Linked DNA regions of Homo sapiens: all the other regions are linked to region 3. The links are contacts of gene promoters, found by promoter capture Hi-C in blood cells and fetal thymus (Javierre and others, 2016). All regions are on one chromosome and are shown on one strand. The core of a region is centred on a gene start or on the middle of the fragment in contact, and the rest is flanking DNA. Distances in the headings are between cores, read along the strand shown.

Region 1 (3,543 bases), core at 264-2,763, 1.9 Mb after region 3:
AGTCACAGGGGATTTATGAAGTTTGGGGTGAGAGGACAGGGAGGAAGCTTCAGGTGGCTCAGGGGTATTGTTAAAATGACCTGAAGATGGCCTGGTGCGGTGACTCACGCCTGTAATCCCAGCACTTTGGGAGGCCAAGGCGGTTGGATCATCTGAAGTCAGGAGTTTGAGACCAGCCTGGCCAACATGGTAAAAGCCCGTCTCTACTAAAAATACAGAAAATTAGGTCAGGTGCAGTGGCTCACGCCTGTAATCCCAGCACTTTGGGAGGCCAAGGTGGACGGATCACCTGAGATCAGGAATTCGAGCCCAGCCTGACAGACATGGAGAAACCCTGTCTCTACTAAAAATACAAAATTAGCCGGGCGTGGTGGCACATGCTTATGATCCCGGCTACTTCGGAGGCTGAGGCAGGAGAATCGCTTGAACCTGGGAGGCAGAGGTTGCGGTGAGCTGAGATCACGCCATTGCATGCCTGGGCAACGAGTGAAACACCACTAAAAAAAAAGAAAAAAAAATGGCCAGGGGCGGTGACTCACGCCTGTAATTCCAGTACTTTGGGAGGCTGAGGTGGGTGGATCACCTGAGGTCAGGAGTTTGAGACCAGCCTGGCCAACATGGTGAAACCCCGTCTCTGATAAAAACACAAAAATTAGCTGGGTGTGGTGGCAGGCGCCTGTAATCCCAGCTACTCGGGAGGCTGAGGCAGGAGAATCACTTGAACCTGGGAGGCAGAGGTTGCAGTGTGCGACCACAGGCCATTGTGCTCCAGCCTGGGCAACAAGAGTGAAACTGCCACACACACACACACACACACACACACACACACACACACACAAAAGACATGAAGACTGCACTCGAGCAGGATTTTGTAAGAATCACAGTAAATGGATTAGCTGAATCCAATCAAATTATTTAGGAACCTGGGAGGTAGGGAGTAGCCATGCCTATGGGTGGGAGACAGAATCAAAACAGATTTTAGTATCATGTAATGGTATAACTTTAACCCAGAAAAAAAAGATTCAAAACCAACCCCTCTGAAGGAAATGAACCTGAAGCTTTCTGTTTTCACTGTGATTATAAAAAGGGCTGTTTTTTCATTTGGTGCTTAGAAAGAATTGTCCCAGACATAAGCAGCTCCAGCAAGAGTTCAGCACTTCTTTCCATCATACAAGTTCTGTTCTTTCCCAGGGCTGCCCTTGTGTCTGGTTATCTCTCTTCCTGCAAGGACTGCAAAGACTGGATGCATGTTAGATTGGGAATCAGTTAAAGACACAGGATTTAATCTGCCATACTGGGGAAGGTCTCAAACCTGTCACATGGCTTCATGGTATTACGGAAAAAGGACGGACTTTGATGTCAAAAAGTTCTACAGTCACTGGGAGCTGCGGTGGCTCAGGCCTGTTGCCCTGGCACATAAGGAGGCGAGGCTACGTGTTTGAGGCCAACCTGGGCAACATAAAAACCTCTCATCCATTCAAAGAAAAAGAAAAAAGAAAAAAAAAGTTCTACAGTGAAATCCCTGCATTGTGTGCTTTAGGCAAACCACTTGAGCTTTCTGAGCCTTTTGGGAGCCTTGTCTGGACTTGGTCTCTACTGTCCTAAGTACTCACAGTGGAGCTAGGCTTCCCTGCATTCACCATCCTACTGTCTAAAGAACAGGAAGAGAGACAAACGAGATAAGCTCTGACCAAGTGGGCAGTACTTTCTCCTAGAGATAGGTCAGTCACTTTCCATTTCCTAAAACTGGGCTTTCACCATTCACACTGGGAAATATCTGTGATATACTCAGGCCCTGCATCTGGTTCCCTCTGGCCACGTGATGAAACCAACATCAGAGCTTTCCAGGAAACAAGGCTGGTCATCAGGTTGCAGAAAACAAGCAGATAAATACTTGACCGTCTCAAATCTCTGCCTCCAAAGATCACCGATAAAAATGAGCCAGCTCTCTTATTTCAAGAAAGCTTGGGTCTTTGGCTTAGAAATCAGAAGACAGGCGGCTGGGTCCGCGGTGGCTCATGCCTGTTATCCCAGAACTTTGGGAGGCTAAGGCGGGCCGATTGCCTGAGGCCAGGAATTCGAGACCAGCCTGGTAAACATGGCGAACCCTGTCTCTACTAAAAACACAAAAACTAGCCAGGCGTGGTGGTACACGCCTGTAATTCCAGCTACTCAGTAGGCTGAGGCACATGAACTACATGAATCCAGGAGGCAGAGATTGCAGTAAACCAAGATTGCACCACTGCACTCCAGCCTGGGCAACAAAGCGAGACTGTTTCCAAAAAATAAAAATAGAGTAGGAGCTAGACCAGCAAAGGGGTAAGAGCATATTCCAGATAGGGGGCTCCCAACTATGGGCAAAAACATAAAGGAAGCTCAGTGCTCTTGGCAGAAAAGTTCAAAGTAAAGGGTGGAAGGTTACAAATTAAAGAGGCCAGGTCATGGAGACTGTTAGATGTTACATTTAATGGCTTGGACTTGATCTTTTAACTCAGTGGCTGACAAGCAAGCTGCAGTATACTGATGTGTTATGAATCCACTATAAGCATACTGCCAAAGCTTGACCAGAATGTAAAAAAAAAAAAAAAAAAAAAAAAATATATATATATATATATATATATATATATATATATATATATATATATATATATATAAAGCTAGAATGAACCAGCAAGTAGGCAAAAGGCATAGCATAATATCAGGCCACAAATATTATATGTTTAGCAAAACATTGAAGATCTTTGCTTTATAGCTATGTAAAAACATGTCATTGGGTTAAGATTTCATCTCTGCCATGGCTGGAAAATAAATTAGGGGACAGATTCTCATGTTGGTTTGTCCAGTTTTCCCCTCAAGTACAGATGCTGGTGAGGGAGCTTTTTCTTTCTTCCACATTACTACCACTTCCACTTGTTCTGGGCCATTTAAGAGGTTCACATGGGGTAATCCACATACAGTAAAGCAAAGCTTCAAGATCCAGGCTGCTTTCACTGCTGCTGTGTGGCCTGCAAGCAGCTGACAAAGGCCTCCAGGAGTGTGGGTGGAGAGGAACTTGGTGTGATGAGATACTGGGGAGGGGGGAAGGGCAGCTAGAAAAACAAAATGTCTCAATTTACCTCCAAATTTTTCCTCCTAAAGCAGCAAATCATTTTAATCCAACAGTATACCACTGAGGTGAACAGTGATAAAGCAAATGATACAAAGATCACAGAAACTTTTAGCTGCCAAGGAACATCATACCGGCATACCAACTCACTGTAATATTGCTGGCCTGGTAGTTGCTGGTGTGTCATCAGGATAGGTCCCGATCGACCAGTTAACCGACCCTTGTTCTAGTCTCACTATCTCTGAGATAGAGTATTTGGAGGCGGCTGCTTTACCCTGGGGACGTAAGGGTGATAAATGAGTCCGTGCTCAAGGTTCATGTCCTCTATGCTGTAGTAACACTGTATTTTTTTTTTTTTCCGAGACAAGAGTCTCGCTCTGTTGCCCAGGCTGGAGTGCAATGGCGCAATCTCGTCTCACGGTAACCTCCGCCTCCTG
Region 2 (3,473 bases), core at 889-3,388, 1.1 Mb before region 3:
CTGCAGGCAAGAGAGCGCCTGGGATCCCGGGGGGCTCAGGCTTGAAGGTGCCACCCCGGCGAGTGAGGGCGCCTCACCTTCTTGAAGTCGGCGGTGAAGGAGACGAGGGTGCCGTCGGGCTTGCGCAGCTCGAGGCTGATGCTGTCCGCGTCGCTGTCCGCCTGCAGGCTCTCCTCGGTCACCTGGCCGTCCGGCAGCCGCACGCGGACCCGCAGCTCGGCCGGCGCACCCGTTCCCAGCAGCGGCGCGAGCAGCGGCAGCAGCAGCAGCAGCGCAGGGCGCGCCAGGGGTACCCCGGGAAGGCGCATCCCCGGGGGCCGCTGCCGTCCGCGGCCCCGGCGCGCCGCGTGGGGGCGGGGAGAGGCGCAGGCAAACTTCGCCCAAAGTTGGGGGCTAGTTCGGGGCGCCCGGGAGCCGCTCCGCCGGGGGCCTTGGCCGCGGGGTCGCCCGCGAGGTGGCGCGGACGCACGTGGGTAGCGCTCAGCAGGGCGCCCCCGGCGGCCCCGAGGCGGAGACGGCGCTGCCCCGGCCCGGCTCCGCGGCCCCGGGCTCCAGCGCTGCGAGCCTGTGTTTTGCACTTTTCATTCAATCCCACCCCCCGTCACTTCCTTCAGAAAACAGAAACCACCAGGACCCGCCTTAAAGAGACCGCGCACCTCGCGGCCCTTAAAGGGCCCGCGGCTGCTCTCCGCACTTCGGCGTTGGCCGGGCAGGGGGCGGGGAGAGGGGGCAGCGGCTCCGCGGCTTTGTGCGAGCGGCCTCCTCGACCTCCCTCCCGCCCGGCCGCGCGGAGTCAGCGACCCAGGCGGAGTCAGAAGTTTGCTCTCCCGGGGCAAATCCCTTCCTTCCAGCAGGGGCAGGACGGGTGACTCTTCCCCCGCCCTGCACCGCCACCCCCCCCCCCCGCTTTTTTTTTTTTGGCTTGCTTTTGTGCCACGTGGATGAAATAATCGGGCTTGGATTTTTAGGGGTTTTGTTTGGTCTTTCAGTTTCTCTGACAGCGAATTTCTAAAAAGCTTCTGCAAAATCAGACCTCGCTTTGCACTCTGCCTTTTCCCTGCCCCACACTGGGAGGGTGGATCGGGGGTTCTCGCCCAGCTTTGCCACGGCCAGGTGTTAGACCTTGATGGGTCAGGTCACCCACTGGGACGCGGCCCTCAGGTTTTGTGAGCCCCTGTGCCTCTTTCCTTTTCAGTCCTGCCTCCCGTGCTTCCCGCATTCACGGCCTTTCCTCAGTCCTGCCCACCACCGCAGACCCGGTTCTTTCTCTCTATTATAGACTATGAAAATCCAGGGAAATGTTGGATTCCAGGTCACTTGGGAGAATTTCCAGGGACTCGGGACGCTGGCGCTCCACGACAGTGGCTTTCCCACAAGCCACAAGGAAACATGCGTGCCCTGCGGTGCACCCCAACAATAAGAAGGGTGAAGACCAGGAGATCTGGATTGCTGCCTCCTCTGATTAGTTGTGGAATTTAGGCACGTTTTAAAAATTCTTTGGGCTTAAGTGTCCCCGTGTGTATCGTGGAAGCTGCTCAGACCTACACTGTCCTGCCAGTCCCAGGCAAGGGAAAAAGCCCCACGAAGATGCTCAAAACCAATTGTTCCCTGACTTCCATTTTCACTTCTGTTGGGACCTTGATTACTGATGGGTGAAAACTCCCTTCTCTGCAGCCTCCTTCCCTTCTAGGGCTTCCCCAGCACAGGGCCATGTGAACTGCAGGGTCCGGCTAGAATCGGCCTCTTGCTATCATCCAGGGGCCCTTCCCGCTACCCGCTCTCTGCTGCCTAGATTTAGGACTGAAGGGAATTTAAGAGACTACCAAGTCAGCCTTTTCCAAATTTGCCTTTCCTGAAGAATCACCTGGATGCTTGTTAGAAAATAGATTCCCGAATCCCTAAACCCATGGAATCAGATTCTAGGGAAAAGAACTGAGGATTAGCATTTTTGACAAGGCCCACATGATGCTCGACATAAGTGGTTGACAGCAGGTATTTGGCAGATGTTTAAGCATAGAGCGTCTGGGCCAGACGCGGTGGCTCATGCCTGTAATCCTAGCACTTTGGGAGGCCGAGGCGGGCGGATTGCCTGAGCTCAGGAGTTCGAGACCAACCTGGGCAACAAGGTGAAATCCCGTCTCTACTAAAATACAAAAGAAATTAGCTGGGTGTGGCGGCGTGCGCCTGTAATCCCAGCTACTCGGGAGGCTGGGGTAGGAGAATTGCTTGAACCCAGGAGGCAGAAGTTGCAGCGAGCCAAAATTGCGCCACTGCACTCCAGCCTGGGTGACAGAGGAAGACTCCGTCTCTACAAAACAAAACAAAACAAAACAAAACAAAAACATAGAGCATCTGAAACAAGCAGCATCCTTCCTGGAGAACCTGGCTCCTAAGGAGTTCATCTTCACATCCGGGAGATAAGGCAGGCTGTTAGGGAATAATTGGATTAGCACAAGGATTGCTCCCCTAAGGACTCCCACTCTTAGCTGGCAACCGTTTAGACTAGAGATGCCCAGGGTCTTGAAATTGGCCTCCCGCCTGACAGGATGCTGGATCTCCATGCGGCCTTGAAGCTAGGTCTCCCACATGAGTCAGCCCACACAGTCATTAAGGGCCTCGCCCACATTTCCTAACTTCCCTTGTTTCAGGTCCTGTCCCCATCCGCCACCAGCTCTGCCCTCAGCCATTTCCCAGGCTCTTACCCCTTCTCCTCCCACAACAGCCCAGAAGTGGGCAAAGAAGCCCTGGATGTCAGATTTCTTGTTTAGGTCCCTGAGGTTTGTCTCTGTTCACATTTTGGGTTTGGAAACAAGGATGGAAGACCTCATCTCTTTCCCACCTCTTCCCCATAGTCAACTTCCTTCTCTACTTCAACCACAGATCAAACCAGATTTTTCTTTGAAAGTGATAGGGCATTTGAAATCTCACTCCATTACATAAGCCCTGCCTACCTACATCTCTATGCCTTGCTATTGATTTCACCTGACCACCTCTTCAAGCTCCAGGACAAAACTCAGGTTTCCCAGGAAGACTTTCTCGACTCCCCACCGACCTAGCCCTCTGTTCTGTGCCACTGTCTCCGGCCTCTGGACTCCAACAATAGTCATTATTATAGCAGCTCCTCCCCCATTGTATTTTGATTATGTCCAGGTTCTGTGCCAAGCATTTTACATGGATCATCTTATTTAATTTTCATGGCATCCCTCCAAAGTAGGTTCTATTCTTAGGCTCTTTTTACTGACTAGGAAACCAAAGCTTAGAGAGGTTAGGCAACATACCCAAGGTCACAAAAGCAGTAGAGCCAGCCGGGACTCAAACACAAGTCTGCCCGCCTGACCACAAAGCCCTTGCTTTGAACCACAGTAGCCTCTGCCTGTCGGTAGCCCTCACTTTCTGCCAGTCCCACTCGGGGCTCACATCCTGCGCTATCTTCTCCTGTTATCTAACGGTTTCGCGTGTGGCAATCCTGTATC
Region 3 (3,246 bases), core at 747-3,246:
ATAAGTACTGAAAATCTGGTGGAATACTAGCAAGTAAATTACGAAAATTTATGTATTTTATACATATCTGGGTTTTTGTTGTTGTTAATTAGAGCCATTTTCAAGTAGAAAAGCCATTTCACATCTGATTTAGTTTGTTTGTTTGTTTGTTTTGAGACAGTTTCCCCTCTGTTGCCCAGGCTGGGATGCAGTGGCATGATCGCGGCTCACTGCAACCTCCTCATCCCAGGTTCAAGCGATCCTCCTGCCTCAGCCTCCTGAGTAGCTGAGATTACAGGCATGTGCCACCACACCCGGCTAATTTTTGTATTTTCAGTAGAGACGGGGTTTCACCGTGTTGGCCAGGCTGGTCTCGAACTCCTGACCTCAAGTGAGCCACCCACCTTCGCCTACCAAAGTGCTGGGATTACAGACGTTAGCCACTGCGCCCGGCCTCACATCTGATTTTGAGGGAAAGAAGAAACTATCTTCGGCTTAAAAACGGTCAACATGACCCTGACTCCTGGAACATGCCATAGAGGGAAGAGTGGACAAAGCGCTAGGCTATTGGAGTCCTTTCCCTAACTCACTGGTGGTGACTTCCTCTCTGACAAATGGAAATCATTTGCCGCCTAAGAGCCTGTCGGGGAATGAAAGGTAATAAAGATGCTGGTGAACTGGCTGGGCGTGGTGGCTCACGCCTGTACTCCCAGCATTTTGGGAGGCCAAGGCGGGCAGATCACCTGAGGTCGGGAGTCCCAAACCAGCCTGACCAACATAGGGAAATCCCGTCTCTACTAAAAATACAAAATTAGCCGGGCGTGGTGGCGCATGCCTGTAATTCCAGCTACTGCCTGTAATCCCAGCTACTCGGGAGGCTGAGGCAGGAGAATCTCTTGAACCTGGGAGGTGGAGGTTTCGGTGAGCCGAGATCGCGCCATTGCACTCCAGCCTGGGCAACAAGAGCGAAACTCTGTCTCAAAAAAAAAAAAAAAAAAAAAAAAAAAAAGCTGGTGAATTGTTGTTTGCAGGGGAACAGGCCAAGCAAAATGCACAGCAACCTGCAGGAGGCCAAGCAAAATGCACAGTGACCTACAGGAAGAAACCTGACTGGGAGTTCCTCAGACTCACAGGAAATCAGTTGTGGGTCTGATTCCTCTCCCTCCTCAGCTCTTTCCAGAGCCTCAGCCTGGAAATCTCCATCTCCTCCTTGTGGGAGCTAGGTACAATGCAGTGATCCACGGCCAAGCTGAAGTCTCGAGTTAAATCCAAGACCTGAGGGTACTCCCAATCCCTCAGTGAAGTGCTGCGCTGGGTTGCCGGGCAACTAACTGCTACAGCTGGGGCAGAAGGTGGGTGGGATGCTGAGAAAAAAATACCAGAATCGAGGACAAGAAAAACAGAGTGGGAGGGGCTTTTCAAGGATCTACGCTTTAGAATTTACACCATCCTTCCAAATCGTAGCTTTGTTTCCGGGAACTGAGTTGTGTTTACCTTGGCTTCCGACTATGTTGGCAACAGGTTTCCTGCAAGAAACAGGCGCGTCTCCACACCCTCGTCCCTCCTCCCCACCCCCTGCCTTTCAATAGCCATCTTCCTGGAGCCGGAGGCATCCCAGATTAAGGGAGAGGTACGGGCCCTTTAAGCTTGACCTATGGAGGCGGACGGAGCTAAAACTGACGTGGAACCGGAATGTGAGCGGTGTCAGACACGTGGTACAAGGAGGCATTCATCTTGGAACCGGGCAATTGGCATTTCCGCTCTGGGTAGTACATCTTTAACATAATGTTAGGGAAGTATCCGTTCTTGGCTGCCTTTCTTTAATTGCGTTTCCAGTACTCTCTCGGTGATTCTACTCTTGAACATAGGATGAAATTTGGAATCACACTTCTCTTCCACTTCCATCCCCACCCTCTAATGCCCATATTAAAAATGGCGGCCGCCGCCTTCCGCAGTAATGGTTGTTCAGCGAACAAGATCCGGGCGGAAACAGTAGATAGGCGGGTGCAGCGGGGCAGAACATAGGTTGCCTTAGAGAGGTTCCCCGGTGTCCCGACGGCGGCTCAAGTCAGAGTTGCTGGGTTTTGCTCAGATTGGTGTGGGAAGAGCCTGCCTGTGGGGAGCGGCCACTCCATACTGCTGAGGCCTCAGGACTGCTGCTCAGCTTGCCCGTTACCTGAAGAGGCGGCGGAGCCGGGCCCCTGACCGGTCACCATGTGGGCCTTCTCGGAATTGCCCATGCCGCTGCTGATCAATTTGATCGTCTCGCTGCTGGGATTTGTGGCCACAGTCACCCTCATCCCGGCCTTCCGGGGCCACTTCATTGCTGCGCGCCTCTGTGGTCAGGACCTCAACAAAACCAGCCGACAGCAGATGTGAGCAGCGGCACACGGGTCCGGGCAGGGGGCAAGGGCTAAGGAAGGAGTGGCTAGGGCAGGGGCGGGAACCGGGGTGCTTGACCACACGTGAAGACTCAGAACTAACCCAGGCAGCCTGGAACTCGGAGAGGTGATGAGCAGAACTTACTCGCATTGGGGAAAGGATGGGTAGGGACCCTTGGGTATATCTGGGACTCTGGCAGTGGTGCTTTCCTCCCTCCGCCCCCCTCACCACTTACCAGAATAAAAAACCGGGAATGAGAAGACCACTTTGGGTTACTGTAACACCTGCACTAGTGAGTGACCACGCCCCCTTTCCTCTTCCCCCTCGCCCCCTTGCTGCTGGGCCACAGCCCAGAATCCCAGGGAGTGATCAGCGGTGCTGTTTTCCTTATCATCCTCTTCTGCTTCATCCCTTTCCCCTTCCTGAACTGCTTTGTGAAGGAGCAGTGTAAGGCATTCCCCCACCATGAAGTAAGTGGGTTCGTGGGGGTGATTGCCTGTGGCTGGGACCTGGGAGGTACCTGAGAGAACTGGGGTTATTTGGGCTTGTGGGGAGGGGCTAAGAAATTATCAGAAAAGACAGGAATTCTTAAAAGGTGGAATGGGAGCAGGCTTGAGTCATGGACCTGCCCGAGCCTCCCCCAGTTTGTGGCCCTGATAGGTGCCCTCCTTGCCATCTGCTGCATGATCTTCCTGGGCTTTGCGGATGATGTACTGAATCTGCGCTGGCGCCATAAGCTGCTGCTACCTACAGCTGCCTCACTACCTCTCCTCATGGTCTATTTCACCAACTTTGGCAACACGACCATTGTGGTGCCCAAGCCCTTCCGCCCGATACTTGGCCTGCATCTGGACTTGGGTAGGTAGTCCTACCACTGCTGCCCCT
Region 4 (3,682 bases), core at 1,166-3,665, 2.0 Mb after region 3:
TGTTTTTTACCCCGACAGGGTCTCAGTCAGTCGTTAGCTGGAGTGAAGTGGCGTAACACAGCTCACTGCAGCCTTGATCTCCTGGGCTCAAGTGATCCTCCCATTTCTTCCTTCCAGAGTAACTGGTACTGCAGGCCCACGCCACCACACATGGCTAATTTTTAAATTTCGTAGAGACGAGGTCTTGCCATGTTGCTCAGGCTCCAGCTGTTGTATTCTTTCCAATTGAAACGAAGAATTATCTGCTCTTATGGACACATAAAATAAGAACGAACTAAGAGCTACCCAGTGGTAAGACGCAAACTTCTGAGTGACTTTGGGTTTCCTGCGCCTGTTATCCCAGCACTTTGGGAGGCCGAGGCGGGTGGATCACTTGAGGTCGGGAGTTCAAGACCTGCCTGGCCAACGTGGCGAAACCCCGTCTCTACTAAAAAAAAAAAATACAAAATTAGCTGGGTGTGGTGGCACATGCCTATAAGCTTGAACCGGGAGGCAGAGGTTGTAGTGAGTAGAGATCGCGCCACTGCACTCCAGCCTGGGCGACAGACTGAGACTCCGTCACACACACAAAAAAAAAAAAAAAAAAAGAAAGAAAGACCAAGCAGAATGCAAATAAAAGGTCTGAAGAACAAGTTTTGTTAATTTGCCACAACAGACTGTACTCCAGGGGAAGCTTTGTTGTCCATTAAAGTGAGTTCTCTGGGAAGACGAGGAGTAACCGACTTGCACGATTTTCCTGCCTTTTCTATATTCTCTACTTACTATGACAATACAGCACTAGAATTTCCAAGTGCTTATACCAGCATAGTGCAATGTATTTAATGAGAAACCACGTCCAACAACAAAGCGTTATAACTTCTCCAGCTGAGTTAGATGTTTTAGTCTGAACCAGGAAAACAGATGAAGAAAGTTGAACCAAGAATTAAAAGATTTAGAGTTTCCACTCAGACCTAAGACTCTCCACTTTGTTTCAGAGGGAGTGGGTATGGTTATTCTGAAGAAGAAGGCGGCCCTTATCCTGAATGCCCGGTAGCCTCCGTGGGCTGGTGGGTGGTTCCTCCGGTCCAGCACCTCCATAATTTATGATCAAATGCCCAAGCCAACAAACTAATCCTCCCCTTCTCCCCCACAAGGAGGCAACCTTTATGTCAGAACAATGTGCCCAGAAGAAGCCAAAGACACAAGGCACATCCAAGGCAAAGACAATCTTAATTAAGCACTTTCTCCTTCCACTTTCTCCACACCTTTACCCCCGGCCCAACCCCTTCCCATAATTTCAAGCTGTACAAAATGAGGTCCTAGGGTGGATCCGGGTGGTCTTTCCTTTCTCTACGGGTAAGCTCTACAAAGAGGCGAAAGCTCCGAGTGTTAGTTCTTGTTTGTGTATAAATTCTGAAAAGCAACGCTGGCCTGCGAGCTATGAAAAGCAGAAGCATGAGTCACCACGCAACGGGTCAATCAAACCTGTAGACCAGAAGGCACGGATCTGGCAAACGGACGGTGAGCCAGGAAAAAAACATCCCCCCAAACCTCTCCGCTGACAGGTTTATCTAGCTGGCTGACCTTGGGCAGGTCACCAGCCGCTCCGAGCACATTCATGTCTAAGATGAGATGGGGGCTGGAAAGCCTTCCAAGAAATAATCCCTTCCGAGTGGTGACGGTCTATGCAACTTTTGAATAAACACATCCTAAGAGGCAACGGAGAAGTTTCTAAAGAGTTGAAATTTTTCAACAAAAGGAGGAGGGAAAAGTGCTCGGTAAAAACACAACGGAGTAACTGGTTTTGGCCTCCGACCAGACGCGAGGGGAGAGAAGAGTGAGAAGTTAGACCCCTGTGATAAAGGGAAAAGGCAGCAGCGGAGACCCGGGCAGGAGCTGCAGCGCCCAGCCGGGGCGAGCTGGGGTGCGCAAGGCCTACCGCGGGTGGGCCCGGCAGGGCAGGGCAGGGCAGGGCGGGGCGGGGCGCCCGCCGCGCTACCCTCCTGGGAAAGGCCGTGGAGGCGCCGGCCGGCGGCTGAGGAGAAACGCCAGCTTTCGGTATGGAATATCGGGAAAGGGCTCTCAGAGCGAAAACTAGCTGCGCCGGCTGCTGGGAAGCCGACGCTGGGCCCGCAGAGAAGGCGCGCGCTCGCGAGGCCCCCCCCAAGTGGATGGGGCGGCGTGGGGGGAGGGGCCGCAAGGGTGGGGGAGGGGAGGTCGCGGGCCTCTCACAATAACACCTCGCAGCCCCTTCCGACCCCCGCCTCTAAGCCACCGGTTCCCTGCGACCCTGGATGCACTCACTGAAGTAGAGGGTCCGTGCGGGCCCCAAGCGGCTGAGGCGTCGGCGGGTGGCGCGTCGGTCGCTCGCTCGGTCCCGTCGGTCCCGCTCCGGCGCGTCCCTCCTCCGGCCCCAGCACCAGCAGCAGCTCCTCCACTTCCGGTTCCCCTGCCACTCAGCCAAATGGCTTCCGGAAGTCCCGCCCCCATCCTGCCACGCCTCAGCGTGGTTCCTCTCTCCCCGCCTTCGCTCTCCCGGGCGCTGGCGGCGTGCGCCCAGGTGTCCCGCCACACCCCGTTGGGTACCCTGCTTTGTTCTCGCGGTTACCCCCATTTTGTGTGGCGTCTGAGGGACATGGGCTTCTCTCTTTACTCCAGCTGCATCTCTCAATCCTGCGTTCGTGCCACCGCAGTGTGGAGCTGGCATTCGGGACGATGTGGCGTGAAGTCACACTGACGCCATTCCCTTCACACTCAGCCAACTTGGCTTCCTCTTCCACCCATGGAATAAACCAGACTGCTGAAAGTGGGAGGGAAATAGCGGACCAAGGTTAAGGAGGCAGTACCTGACATTTATTAGTGGAATTTCTGTTTCTATGATGAATGTGGAGATTTTGGGTGACCGCCTGTAAAGGTGATACATAGGGGGATGACGAACCCCAGGCTTTTCCTTAAAAGATACATCCAGTTTAGGGGAAGACATACATATACAAAGTCAATATTGAAAAGATTATATGCTAAATAAATGCAGGATCTATAAAAGTAGAGAGGAGGGGCAAGAGATGTGCTCAAGCTTATAGCAGCGCAACGGTTGCTGGAGCAGTGCCCTGAACTGGCCCTTTAAGGATCTCAGCTCTATGCTGGTGAATAGGCAGAGCCTTCCAGGGCTCTTAAACTGATGCGGGGGTGGGGGTTGATTTTGCTGACAAAACCTGTTAAGAATACTGTAAAATCCTGGGAGCCTAAAATGTCAAGATATGTCAAGTAATTTTTCTTTTTTTTTTTTTTTTTTATTCAAGTTCTAGGGTACATGTGCACAACGTGCAGGTTTGTTACATAGGTATACGTGTGCCATGTTGGTTTGCTGCACCCATCAACTCGTCATTTACATTCCGTATTTCTCCTAATGCTATCCCTCCCCCAGCCCCGCAGTCCCCGACAGGCCCCCGTGTGTGATGTTCCCCGCCCTTTGTCCAAGTGTTCTCAGTGTTCAATTCCCACCTATGAGAACATGCGGTGTTTGGTTTTCTGTCCTTGTGATAGTTTGCTGAGAATGATGGTTTCCAGTTTCGTCCATGTCCCTGCAAAGGATATGAACTCATCCTTTTTACAGCTGCATAGTATTTCGTGGTGTATATGTGCCACATTTTCTTAATCCAGTCTATCATTGATGGACATTTGGGTTGGTTCCAAGTCTTTGCTA

What was found. The method cuts DNA at HindIII sites, captures the fragments that hold promoters and counts their contacts. A CHiCAGO score of 5 or more calls a contact.
Region 1: a contact is called between a fragment that was not itself captured here and the fragment with the promoter of DPAGT1 in region 3, in 1 of 17 cell types (monocytes). The highest score is 5.3, in monocytes.
Region 2: a fragment that was not itself captured here is called in contact with the fragment with the promoter of DPAGT1 in region 3 in 1 of 17 cell types (endothelial precursors); the score reaches 5.1 in endothelial precursors.
Region 4: the fragment with the promoter of PAFAH1B2 here is called in contact with the fragment with the promoter of DPAGT1 in region 3 in 1 of 17 cell types (monocytes); the score reaches 9.2 in monocytes.

The regions. Positions count from the first base shown.
Region 1 is chr11:117,171,460-117,175,002 of GRCh38, reverse strand. It overlaps a transcript of PAFAH1B2 not described here. Among named protein-coding and RNA genes, the nearest start is that of SIDT2, 5.5 kb to the left of the region's middle. The HindIII fragment of the contact is 906 bases long and covers 1,061-1,966 here.
Region 2 is chr11:120,208,115-120,211,587 of GRCh38, reverse strand. OAF (out at first homolog) reads right to left here and starts at 556. Exons shown (of 4, transcript NM_178507.4): 1 at 78-556. The coding sequence starts at 308. RefSeq lists silencers at 239-348, 439-488, 669-928 and an enhancer at 1,262-1,803. The HindIII fragment of the contact is 2,239 bases long and covers 1,019-3,257 here.
Region 3 is chr11:119,100,603-119,103,848 of GRCh38, reverse strand. DPAGT1 (dolichyl-phosphate N-acetylglucosaminephosphotransferase 1) reads left to right here and starts at 1,996. Exons shown (of 9, transcript NM_001382.4): 1 at 1,996-2,354; 2 at 2,711-2,831; 3 at 3,006-3,219. The coding sequence starts at 2,194. It also overlaps a transcript of C2CD2L not described here. RefSeq lists enhancers at 728-1,440, 1,652-1,961, 1,144-2,343, 2,155-2,868. The HindIII fragment of the contact is 9,998 bases long and covers 1,628-3,246 here.
Region 4 is chr11:117,143,020-117,146,701 of GRCh38, reverse strand. It overlaps PAFAH1B2 (platelet activating factor acetylhydrolase 1b catalytic subunit 2), which reads right to left and starts at 2,415. Exons shown (of 6, transcript NM_002572.4): 1 at 2,284-2,415. RefSeq lists an enhancer at 1,156-1,335 and a silencer at 1,886-2,205. The HindIII fragment of the contact is 2,379 bases long and covers 676-3,054 here.